Linked DNA regions of Homo sapiens: region 2 is linked to region 1. The links are contacts of gene promoters, found by promoter capture Hi-C in blood cells and fetal thymus (Javierre and others, 2016). All regions are on one chromosome and are shown on one strand. The core of a region is centred on a gene start or on the middle of the fragment in contact, and the rest is flanking DNA. Distances in the headings are between cores, read along the strand shown.

Region 1 (5,281 bases), core at 2,691-5,190:
GAGTAGTTGGAATCACAGGTGCGTGCCACAATGCCCAGCTAATTTTTGTGTTTTTAGTAGAAACAATGTTTCACTATGTTGAGCAGGCTGGTCTTGAACTCCTGACCTCAGGTGATCCGCCTGCCTCGGCCTCCCAAAGTGCTGGGATTACAGGCGTGAGCCACCGTGCCTGGCTAGATGCTTTGACATTTGAAACCTCAATTTAGCTTTGTTATTCTTCCCCAATATTGGTACAAATGTCATTTTAATGTATCAATTTACTGCTGAGGAAACTTAAGAACATTGAGAATTTAAGAACATTGAAATTTATGTGACAGCAAAGAGCACAGTTGGGCATAAACATCATATGCATGCCAAACACATTTATGTGTACTTGCTATATATACTGGATAGTGAGCAAGGCATTTTTATTTGATCTCCAATTCTTGTCATCATTTAACTCATCATCATCTACTAAACACTCTCAGTACTTCTCAGAGATAAGTATATTAAAACTTATCTTTTAATTTTTTTTGCCAGAAACCAACAGACCACAAAACAACAATAAAATGGAAAACAAATAGAATATATGGAGCACTGTAGTTTGATAAGGTCATAATATAAGAAATGGAAGGAGGAATATATAATATCTTCAAACTACCTACCTTTGATGTCTCCCCTGGTGAGCAGGGAGAGAAAGATACCTTTAACTAAGAAAGCATATTCAGGCAAGAAACTCAGCTTAGAAGCAAGGAGGAAGAGGTCTTTTCAGAGTAGTTATTAGTGATTTATGTGCTTCTTTGCTTGTGGAAATCTTCATTTTCAAAGCTTAGCTCAAATGCTACCTCCACCACAAAAGCTATTCTAGTATTGTTCATCATTTCTTCAGTTATGTTTAAGCAATGCCTTGAAAGGCAGCTGAAAACAGAAAAAGATCCCTTAACAAAAGGCAATTGGTTTTCTCATGAAACCAATTAAATAAATAGAACGATCAATAGACAGGACTGTGAGTGATTGCCTTACGATACTCATAAACAGTCTATAAGACTTCATTCTATTACTTTCAACAGTGACCAAGAAGATTTACTCAGCGTTAAGCACTATACTAGGAATTGAAGTGATGGCTATGGGATGCCCTGTTTGGAGGTGGACTTGGTCTAGCGAAGAGCCTGAGGCAAACAGAAATATAGTCAAATAATTACTATACAGTGTGATAGGCACATGGCATAGAAGCAGCATGGTGTCTAGAAGGAGTGAGTTGCTCTGTCCCACTCACCCCCCAAATACATCTGACCTCATCTGCATTCTCTCTCACTCACTATACTTTAGCTACATTTTGAGTTTCTTGAACATGCCAAGTATGCTTCTACCTCAGGGCCTTTGCACTTCTTATTCCTCTGTTTGATAGTCTGTCACCCCGAAATCCACGGGGCTCACCTCCTGTCTCCATTCAAGTCTCTTGTATCACTTCATCAGAGTAGCTTTCCCTGACCACTCCATATAAAATTGCACCCCATCACTTCATTTTATATTGCTTACTCTTTTCACAATTCTTGTCATCATGACATATCATACGTTCATATGTTTATTATCTGACTCTCTTATTAGAATCAAAGCTCCACAAAAGAAAGAACTTTGTTTTATTCACTGTTGAATCTACATAGCTGGAAGAGTTCCTGGCAAAACAAATGGGAAGAGATAAAATGGGATTCAGGAAAGATTTCACAAAGGTGATTATACCCCCAGAGAGTTTAGAAGGATGCAAGAGATTATCATAAAAAGATAAGGGAGCTGGGAATAGCTGGCAGAAGTGTGTTCAAAGGTAAGAAAGATTAAAACCACATGGTTTGTTTAAATAATGTGAGATATTGGTTGGGCGTAAACCCTTCATTTGTGCTTCTATTACAACACATTCACCTCTTCTCTTGTAGGAGAGTTGTTTACTGCCCCTCTGTCTTTCTCAATAACTTCAGAGTTCTTTAAGGGGTGGGACTGTTTCACTCATGTCTTCATTTTCCAAGTTCTTAAACAGAGCAGATATTCTGTAATTGCTAAATAAATAAATGATAAAACAATATTTATTCATCAAGGAGCAAGAAAACTCATTTAGTTGTTCAATCAAAATGGATTTCTCTCTGTTGACAAGCGAATGCCCTGTTTGTAAACTTTATAAATGAAAGAGACCTCAGAGATCATCTAACTTGGCCTTTCCATTTTATAGATGAGAAAACTGAAGCATAGAAAGGTTGATTGCCTGACTATACAACCTGCTAGGTATAATGAAGAACTGAGGCCAGGCCTGGTGGCTCATACATGTAATCCCAGCACTTTAGGAGGCCTAGGTGGAAGGATTGCTAGAGACCACGAGTTCCAGACCAGCCTAGGCAACATGGTGAGACATTGTCTCTACAAAAAATAAAAAATTAGCCAGGTGTGGTGGCACCTGCTTGTCTGTAGTCCCAGGTACTCAGGAGGCTGAAGTGGGAGGACTGTTTGAGTCTGGGAGGTAGAGACTGCAGTGAACAGTGACCCTGCCACTGCATTTCAGCCTGGGTTACAGAGTAAGACTGTTTTTTAAACAAAACAAAACAAAACAAAACAAAACAAAACAAAACAAAAAAACAGGCCGGGCGTGGTGGCTCATGCCTGTAAGCCCAGCACTTTGGGACACCAAGGTGGGCAGATCACCTGAGGTCAGGAGTTCAAAACCAGCCTGGCCAAAATGGTGAAACCCCCTCTCTACTATAAATACAAAAATTGGCTGGGCATGGTGGTGCGTGCCTGTAATCCCAGCTACTTGGGAGGCTGAGGCAGAAGAATCGCTTGAGCCCAGGAGGTGGAGGTTGCAGTGAGCAGAGATCGCACCACTGTACTCCAGCTGGGCAACAGAGTGAGACTCCGCCTCAAATAAATAAACAAACAAACAAAAAACCTAGACAAACCTAGAGCTCCAGTTTGAACCATGGTATGTCATCTTTTCACTGGAAGATGTGCTTTCAGAAGCGGCCTGAACATTTGGTTTACCTATTAAAATAAAAACTGTACATACTTTATGATCTATCTTTGAGAAACAGACAAATCTGCAAGGAGCCGTGTGGATCTTCATTGTCATTTTTTGTTGTAGTTAAAAGTGTAAAGTCAAAAGCAATCTGGGTGTACATCAATGGAGAAATAGCCATATTCACTCTGTGATAGCCATACTATGCAATTTTATGAAGCACTTAAAATAGATATAGTTTGATTCATACTAAAATGAAAAAGAGCTCCAAGACACGGATGCTAAAAAAAAAGAAAAAAAAGGAAGTCGAAGGATGATACTATACTGTACTGTACTATTTAAGACTTGTCAATCTCAGGTTCTCCCACCAAAACAGCACAACACATGAAGTAAGTGTATAGGAAATTTCGGAATGATGAACTCCAAACAGGATATGCATCTGTAGCAAGGGCTACCTCCGGAGAGAAGGGTAGGGGAATGAGGCGGTCTTTGACCTTGACAGTAATTTATGGTTTTTAACAAGGAGAGTGCATTCTTCATCTATTAGTTTTGCTTTTGTTGGCTGTGAAAATTAATTTTTTGAGAAATAGTACTGATTGTGATTTCTTCTCTATTCAGTGAGGAAAGGGAGTGACAGGTAATGATTCTGTATCAAGGCTGATTAAAGAATAAAAGAAGGCCTTTCTGAAGATTAAAAAACAAATAAAAAGTTGAGAAGAAAGAGCACGAAGAGTAGAAGGGAACAATGGTGTACTCGCCAGCAATGGCAATACGGGTTATTAAAAAGAAGGGTGGGGGCGGGGAACCCTGGCCGACTCAGGACGCCACGGGAGGAAGCCACGCAAAATAGCAAACCGGGATCCTAGAGGGGCGGGGCCCACCTCAGCGCGCAGGCGCAACCAGGCCCAGGTGGCCGCCGCGGAAGCGAAGCCACCTATACGCGCCGCGCCGCTTGGGTCTCCTGCGCATGCGCAGACGGACCTGCGCTGGAGGCTTCATCTTTGCCGCCGCTGCCGTCGCCTTCCTGGGATTGGAGTCTCGAGCTTTCTTCGTTCGTTCGTCGGCGGGTTCGCGCCCTTCTCGCGCCTCGGGGCTGCGAGGCTGGGGAAGGGGTTGGAGGGGGCTGTTGATCGCCGCGTTTAAGTTGCGCTCGGGGCGGCCATGTCGGCCGGCGAGGTCGAGCGCCTAGTGTCGGAGCTGAGCGGCGGGACCGGAGGGGATGAGGAGGAAGAGTGGCTCTATGGCGGTACGAAACTTCCTGTCTCTGTCTCTCGGGTTCTCTCAGGCCTCCCCTCTTGGCCCTCAAACGGCCGGCGTCCCTGGCCTCTCGCGCCGCCGCTTCGGGCCTCTGGTTGGGAGTCCTGTCCGGCCTGACTTAGGCCGAGCGCGGCGTGCGCGTGCCCCCAGTCCCCGCGGCGGTCTCCCGCCTGGCCCACGCCCACCATGCGCATCCACCCCTGTGGCGGCCGGGCCGGGCTGGGGGGCTGTGACCGGTCCTGGCCCCCGGCTTCGCTGTGCTTTCCCCGAGGCGTCTCGATCGCCTAGCTGCTGCGCTCTTTACCCTTGTTTTTTTCTGTCGATTCTGAGGTGGTGGTTTTTGGTGTCTGTTTTTGCCCTGTGGCCTTAGGGTGCCCTTCCTGTCCCTTCTTTCAGAAACAGTCATTCTGTAATAATAGCTAAATAAAGTTAATGCTGTACAACTAACGTCTTGTTTCTTGATGGTCAGTTTGTATGGAATGCACCTGCAAGGGTACCTCCTTGTCTGAAAGTCGTGCTTTAAAAATAATTAATTAAGAGAGAGAGAGAGAAAGATGGCCCATAAAGAAAACTCTGAATGTCTCCTGTATTAAGGTGAAGTTATTCTTTTTTAAGAGACTACCGTTTAACCTACATCATGGAGGTATCTCATGACCCTTCGGCTTATAGTTTTCAGTGTCATCTCATGTATTTGTTTTTCTCAAAATAAATTTAATGCATCATGTACTTCTCTCTAGAAGGGTACTTGTTTGACATCTGGTTTTTAACTTTAAGTCACAATCCCTTCTTGCTTGTTAACACCAGATTTGAAAGTTAATGTTTGTTCCTTGCCTAAAACATATATTCTTGATTGTCTTTAGAATAGAATAGTAAAAGTGCACTTTGGGCACCATGCAGGTCCTTGATGATGTGACTTTGATAAACTTGTAAAAAAAAATCGTTTGGTGGCAAGATTTAGCATTAGTTACTACTCTTTGAAATGTGAATGTGTAGGATTTCTTTTACAAAGATCTGGAAATCTTCATTACCTCTTAAATTTAAGCTTAT
Region 2 (5,822 bases), core at 1,524-4,023, 180 kb before region 1:
CTTTCAAAATGCCAAATGTAATAAGATATGCTTGTCCCCAATCATCTGTTAGTTTCTTCTGGTTTTTCTTGAAGTTCCTTTGAAAGGATTATCCAAAGTCTTACAGTAGGGGGCAGTATTGTAACATCATGCTCACACTTAAAAGGACTCCAGGTCAGCCCAAAAGAGGAAAAAGGGCCATTATTCATAAAGACTTAACTATGTTGGCATAATTACAGAAATTATTACAAAATTTCAGATTTTTTCCCCAAAGCCTAACCTGCTTTCTTACCACCTACCTATAATATTAAGATGTCTTAAACAATAGAAAAAGCAAATGCTTTTTATTGAAAAAGTCTGTCCAACAATCTGATACATGCTGATTGCTGTTTAGCAGTGAAAGAACTATTTATTGAATGTCATATTTCAAAAGCATGAAGACTTCTCCAATTGCAAATATCCAGATGTTCTTTATTGTAAATATGACATTAGAAGATGGCAAAAAAAAAAAAAAAAAAAAGAAATGAATATTTCATCTTGCTCTAAAATGAAATGCAGAGCTGGTTTATAAACACAAGTCAATGTAACCTATGCTAATGAGATGTTAATTTCAAAAATATGGGGTAAAAAAATATTTACAAGTATAAGAATGTCTTCATATTTTCCAGGAATAAACCTTTTCTTTCCATCTGTCTAGGATGGCTCTTGGCTGGCCTGCTAGGAAATATGGAAACTGAAACTATTTGTACTTAATGCTTGGCTTCCAATGACTTAACAAAATTCTGGGAGTTTGCGGACAGGAAAATGCAAAGTCCTCACCATGTCCCAAGATAAAACATATAGATATATAATGGCAATTTTTTTCCATGCATAATGGTGATCCATATGGATTTCTCTTAATTCTGGAAATACGAGTGATTGCAGCTTTTATTTAATAATTGAAAGCCTTAAGGTCACTAAACAAAACAATAATTACTGTATTTGACTTTAAAAGAATCAAACCTCCTATCATCTTAGGCAAGTACTGTTGTTTATCTTCATCTTCAATTTCAACTCAAATTGAGTTGCTTGTTTTCTGCCTGCTGGCTTTAAGGGGACGGGCTGTTATAAATTCAAACAGGATTTTTTTAAATCTAATAATTTCAACTAAAAAATTATATTAAAAGTATTATTTTATAGACACATAATCTAATATTTTAAATGTAAAAAAAGAGATCCTAAGAATACTAAAACCTATGAAATATCATATGAAGCCAGCAATTATTGTAATCATGTTTAAATGCTATAAATTTTCAGTTTCAGTACTTCAAGTTATAGTTTATTCTAGTCTTATTATTATACATTATACTCTCTCTACTTGTCCATTTTTGTTTAAGTTGTTTTGGAGTTGGGGATGTTTTGGTTTTATGCTGTGTGAGTGAATGTGTGTGTGTGTGCATGTGTGTATACATGTGTTCATTTAAAGATCCTATAAGAACCCTCATATGTATACTTCTTGGAGAATATGGACTGCTCCTATGCTTTATCACCCAGGTTTTCTCAACTGTTGTGATAGGTTCCTTTTCAAGACTTAACAGAAAAACTGTGCCTATAATTACCATCAAATTTCCCTCAAATTGAGCTAAACAGCATACATTTGAGTTGCCAAATGGGACATAATTCTTCATAATTACCGTCCAAAAGAGCTTGTGACAGTTACAACAAAGTAATTCACTAATGGAAGAGCACCAGGTATGCATTTTCCTGAAACATCTGTTTGAAATGCTGGGTCATTTGAAGAGTATGTAAAATGCTCCCATCTTCTAATTAGTTTCTCACCAACCAAAATATCACTGCCAAACTTAACTAGTTTGAGGGGCCAAGGTTCTTCTGTAGCAAAGCCAATATAACCACTCAGTCCCTCTAAAGGCAAGCACTTGTTTCATCTCTGAGTGATGGCATTTGTGATGGAAAAGAAGGCAGCATTTCCTTCTAATAATAACATTTTTCCTTATTATTTCATTTCTCCATCATCTGTAGTCAGAAAGCACCCTGACATACTACATAAAATGCTTGCTTATTTTCTTGCTTCTCTCCCTTCTTTATCTATCTGATCGAATGAGAGGGGAGATGATTACAAACAACAGAGTATGAACTTTGGGTTGTGTAGTATAAGAAGAAATACATTTGGTTTTTGTTTCTGGTTCCTGGCAAAGAGCACCAAAAACCTTTAGAATTTCCTGAGTGATAAGAGTATCATTGTTTATTCATAACTAGCTCTTTTTGATTCATAACTAGCTGACTTTATGTTAATAAGGTAACTTAGGGTAGGATCCCTAGATAGCCTCAGGATGGGGCTGGTCATCAGAAAGATCAAGTAATTAGAGGGTTGAAGGGGGTGGGACTTCAGATTGAGCTCTACAAAAACTCCTTAGCAGCAAGACTTGATGAACTTCCCAGCTGGCGAACACATCAACAACATGCTGGAAAGGTGGAATGACCAGAAAGGGCATGGAAGCTACCTGTCCCCGTACAAAATAAGTAGCACTGGGTAGCTTAAACAAGAGAAATCTATTTTCTCAGTTTTAGAAGCTGGAAGTTTGACATCAGGGTGTCAGTATGACCAGGTTCTGGTAAGGGCTCTCTTCCTGCTTGCAGATGGCTTTTTTCATGTGTATTCACATGGCAGAGAGAAGGAGGGAGGCGGGAAGAAGAGCAAGAGAGAGTGAGAGTGAGAGCAAGAGAGGGAGAGAGAGAGAGAATGCAAGTTCTCTTGTGTCTCTTTTAATAAAGGCATTAATCCTATCAGAAGGTCCCACCCTCATGACCTCATGTAAATCTAATTATGTCCCAAAGGCCTCATCTCTAATTACTATCACAATCACATTGGAGGTTAGGACTTCAGCATACGGGTTTTGGCAGAACACAATTCAGTCTATAGCACTGAGGTCATTGGCCAAAATCAGATATACAGCTTGCACTCATGTAATAATCCTTCTTCCTAGGAGTGAGTGATTATTCTGCACCTGATCCTTTAAACCAGGATATAAGAAACAGAGTCATTGCAATAGAAGTTTGTCTTAAACAACAGCCTCTCCTATTCTTTTTCCCATCCCTCTACCTCCAAACTCACCACCACCACCACCAACTAAACCCACTGTAGAATATAAGTAGCACTATGAAAGTGAATCTCCAAAAACTTTGAACTATTAAAGTAGATTTCAAATGAAAAAAATTGCCATAGTATCCTGATACAATCAGATTTGAAAGGAAAATATAAGCACTGTCTCTACAACTAATTACAGAGTTTTTCCTCTACTTAAGGTAAAAGCAATAATCTGTTTCTGGAAAGAACACTGGGCTTCCTGTTTGAAAAGTCAGAAGATAGGACAAGCGCTTGTCTCGTAACTGAAAAAACTTTTCCTCTATGAGGTAGACTATCTGGTTTAGAAAAAAAATGTGTTCAAATTAAATCCTGACTATTTATTGCTGAAGGATAAATGTAGACTAAAGTACATTCTGTCTTAATGGCATGAATTTAGCCTACATTGTGACCTGTGTAGCTTCTAGAAGACTCAACCTCATGACACATATACACATGCATTCAATGGATTCAGTTCAGTCATTCATCTCTATGCACATTAAATTTTTCACTAATTCATCAGAAATGTATAAATCCATTCTAAAAATCAAAAGTTTAAAAGTTCAGCAAAGTTCAAGTATTTCATGGAGAATAAGGTTGATATGATTTATAATACAAATATTAATTTTATTTTAATTTAATTTAATTTTTTAAAAAATTTTATTATTATTATACTTTAAGTTTTAGGGCACACGTACATAGCGTGCAGGTTTCTTACATATGTATACATGTGCCATGTTGGTGTGCTGCACCCATTAATTCGTCATTTAGCATTAGGTATAGCTCCTAATGCTATCCCTCCCTCCTCCCCCCACCCCACAACAGGCCCCAGTGTGTGATGTTCCCCTTCCTGTGTCCACGTGTTCTCATTGTTCAATTCCCACCTATGAGTGAGAACATGAGGTGTTTGGTTTTTTCTCCTTGCCATAGTTTGCTGAGAATGGTGGTTTCCAGCTTCATCCATGTCCCTACAAAGGACATGAACTCATCCTTTTTTATGGCTCCATAGTATTCCATGGTGTATATGTGCCACATTTTCTTAATCCAGTCTATCATTGTTGGACATTTGGGATGGTTTCAAGTCTTTGCTATTGTGAACAGTGCCTCAATAAACATACATGTGCATGTGTCTTTATAGCAGCATGATTTATAATCCTTTGGGTAAATACCCAGTAATGGGATGGCTGGGTCAAATGGTATTTCTAGTTCTAGATCCCTGAGGAATCGCCACACTGACTTCCACAATGGTTGAACTAGTTTACAGTCCCACCAACAGTGTAAAAGTGTTCCTATTTCTCCACATCCTCTCCAGCACCTGTTGTTTCCTGACTTTTTGATGATTGCCATTCTAACTGGTGGGAGATGGTATCTCATTGTGGTTTTGATTTGCATTTCTCTGATGGCCAGTGATGATGAGCATTTTTTCATGTGTTTTTTGGCTACATAAATGTCTTCTTCTGAGAAGTGTCTGTTCATATCCTTGGCCCACTTTTTGATGGGGTTGTTTGATTTTTTCTTGTAAATTTGTTTGAGTTCATTGTAGATTCTGGATATTAGCCCTTTGTCAGATGAGTAGGTTGCAAAAATTTTCTCCCATTCTGAAGGTTGCCTGTTCACTCTGATGGTAGTTTCTTCTGCTGTGCAGAAGCTCTTTAGTTTAATTAGATCCCATTTCTCAATTTTGGCTTCTGTTGCCATTGCTTTTGGTGTTTTAGACATGAAGTCCTTGCCCATGCCTATGTCCTGAATGGTATTGCCTAGGTTTTCTTCTAGGGTTTTTATGGTTTTAGGTCTAACATGTAAGTCTTTAATCCATCTTGAATTAATTTTTGTATAAGGTGTAAGGAAGGGATCCAGTTTCAGCTCTCTACATATGGCCAGCCAGTTTTCCCAGCACCATTTATTTAATAGGGAATCCTTTCCCCATTGCTTGTTTTTCTCAGGTTTGTCAAAGATCAGATAGCTGTAGATACGTGGCATTATTTCTGAGGGCTCTGTTCTGTTCCATTGGTCTATATCTCTGTTTTGGTACCAGTACCATGCTGTTTTGTTTACTGTAGCCTTGTAGTATAGTTTGAAGTCAGGTAGCATGATGCCTCCAGCTTTGTTCTTTTGGCTTAGGATTGACTTGGCAATGCAGGCTCTTTTTTGGTTCCATATGAACTTTAAAGTAGTTTTTTCCAATTCTGTGTAGAAAGTCATTGGTAGCTAGATGGGGATGGCATTGAATCTGTAAATTACCTTGGGCAGTATGGCCATTTTCACGATATTGATTCCTCCTACCCATGAGCATGGAATGTACTTCCATTTGTTTGTATCCTCTTTTATTTCATTGAGCAGTGGTTTGTAGTTCTCCTTAAAGAGGTCCTTCACATCCCTTGTAAGTTGGATTCCTAGGTATTTTATTCTCTTTGAAGCAATTGTGAATGGGAGTTCACTCATGATTTGGCTCTCTGTTTGTCTGTTATTGGTGTATAAGAATGCTTGTGATTTTTGCACATTGATTTTGTATCCTGAGACTTTGCTGAAGTTGCCTATCAGCTGAAGGAGATTTTGGGCTGAGACAATGGGGTTATCTAGATATACAATCATGTCATCTGCAAACAGGGGCAATTTGACTTCCTCTTTTCCTAATTGAATGCCCTTTATTTCCTTCTCCTGCCTGATTGCCCTGGCCAGAACTTCCAACACTACGTTGAATAGGAGTGGTGAGGGAGGGCAT

The links. Contacts are between HindIII fragments. The CHiCAGO score rates a contact against its expected background, and 5 or more counts as called.
Region 2: a contact is called between a fragment that was not itself captured here and the fragment with the promoter of FIP1L1 in region 1, in 1 of 17 cell types (activated CD4 T cells). The highest score is 5.4, in activated CD4 T cells.

What each region holds. Positions count from the first base shown.
Region 1 is chr4:53,373,701-53,378,981 of GRCh38, forward strand. It overlaps FIP1L1 (factor interacting with PAPOLA and CPSF1), which reads left to right and starts at 3,941. Exons shown (of 18, transcript NM_030917.4): 1 at 3,941-4,223. The coding sequence starts at 4,139. It overlaps LOC105377654 (a long non-coding RNA gene), which reads right to left and starts at 4,040. Exons shown (of 3, transcript XR_007058118.1): 1 at 3,959-4,040; 2 at 1,897-2,030; 3 at 469-897. RefSeq lists enhancers at 3,659-4,207, 4,009-4,098, 4,149-4,268, 4,208-4,756 and a silencer at 4,429-4,518. The HindIII fragment of the contact is 4,469 bases long and covers 806-5,274 here.
Region 2 is chr4:53,197,269-53,203,090 of GRCh38, forward strand. The region is part of intron 4 of SCFD2 (sec1 family domain containing 2); the gene reads right to left. Among named protein-coding and RNA genes, the nearest start is that of SCFD2, 170 kb to the right of the region's middle. RefSeq lists an enhancer at 1-1,845. The HindIII fragment of the contact is 8,880 bases long and covers 1-5,822 here.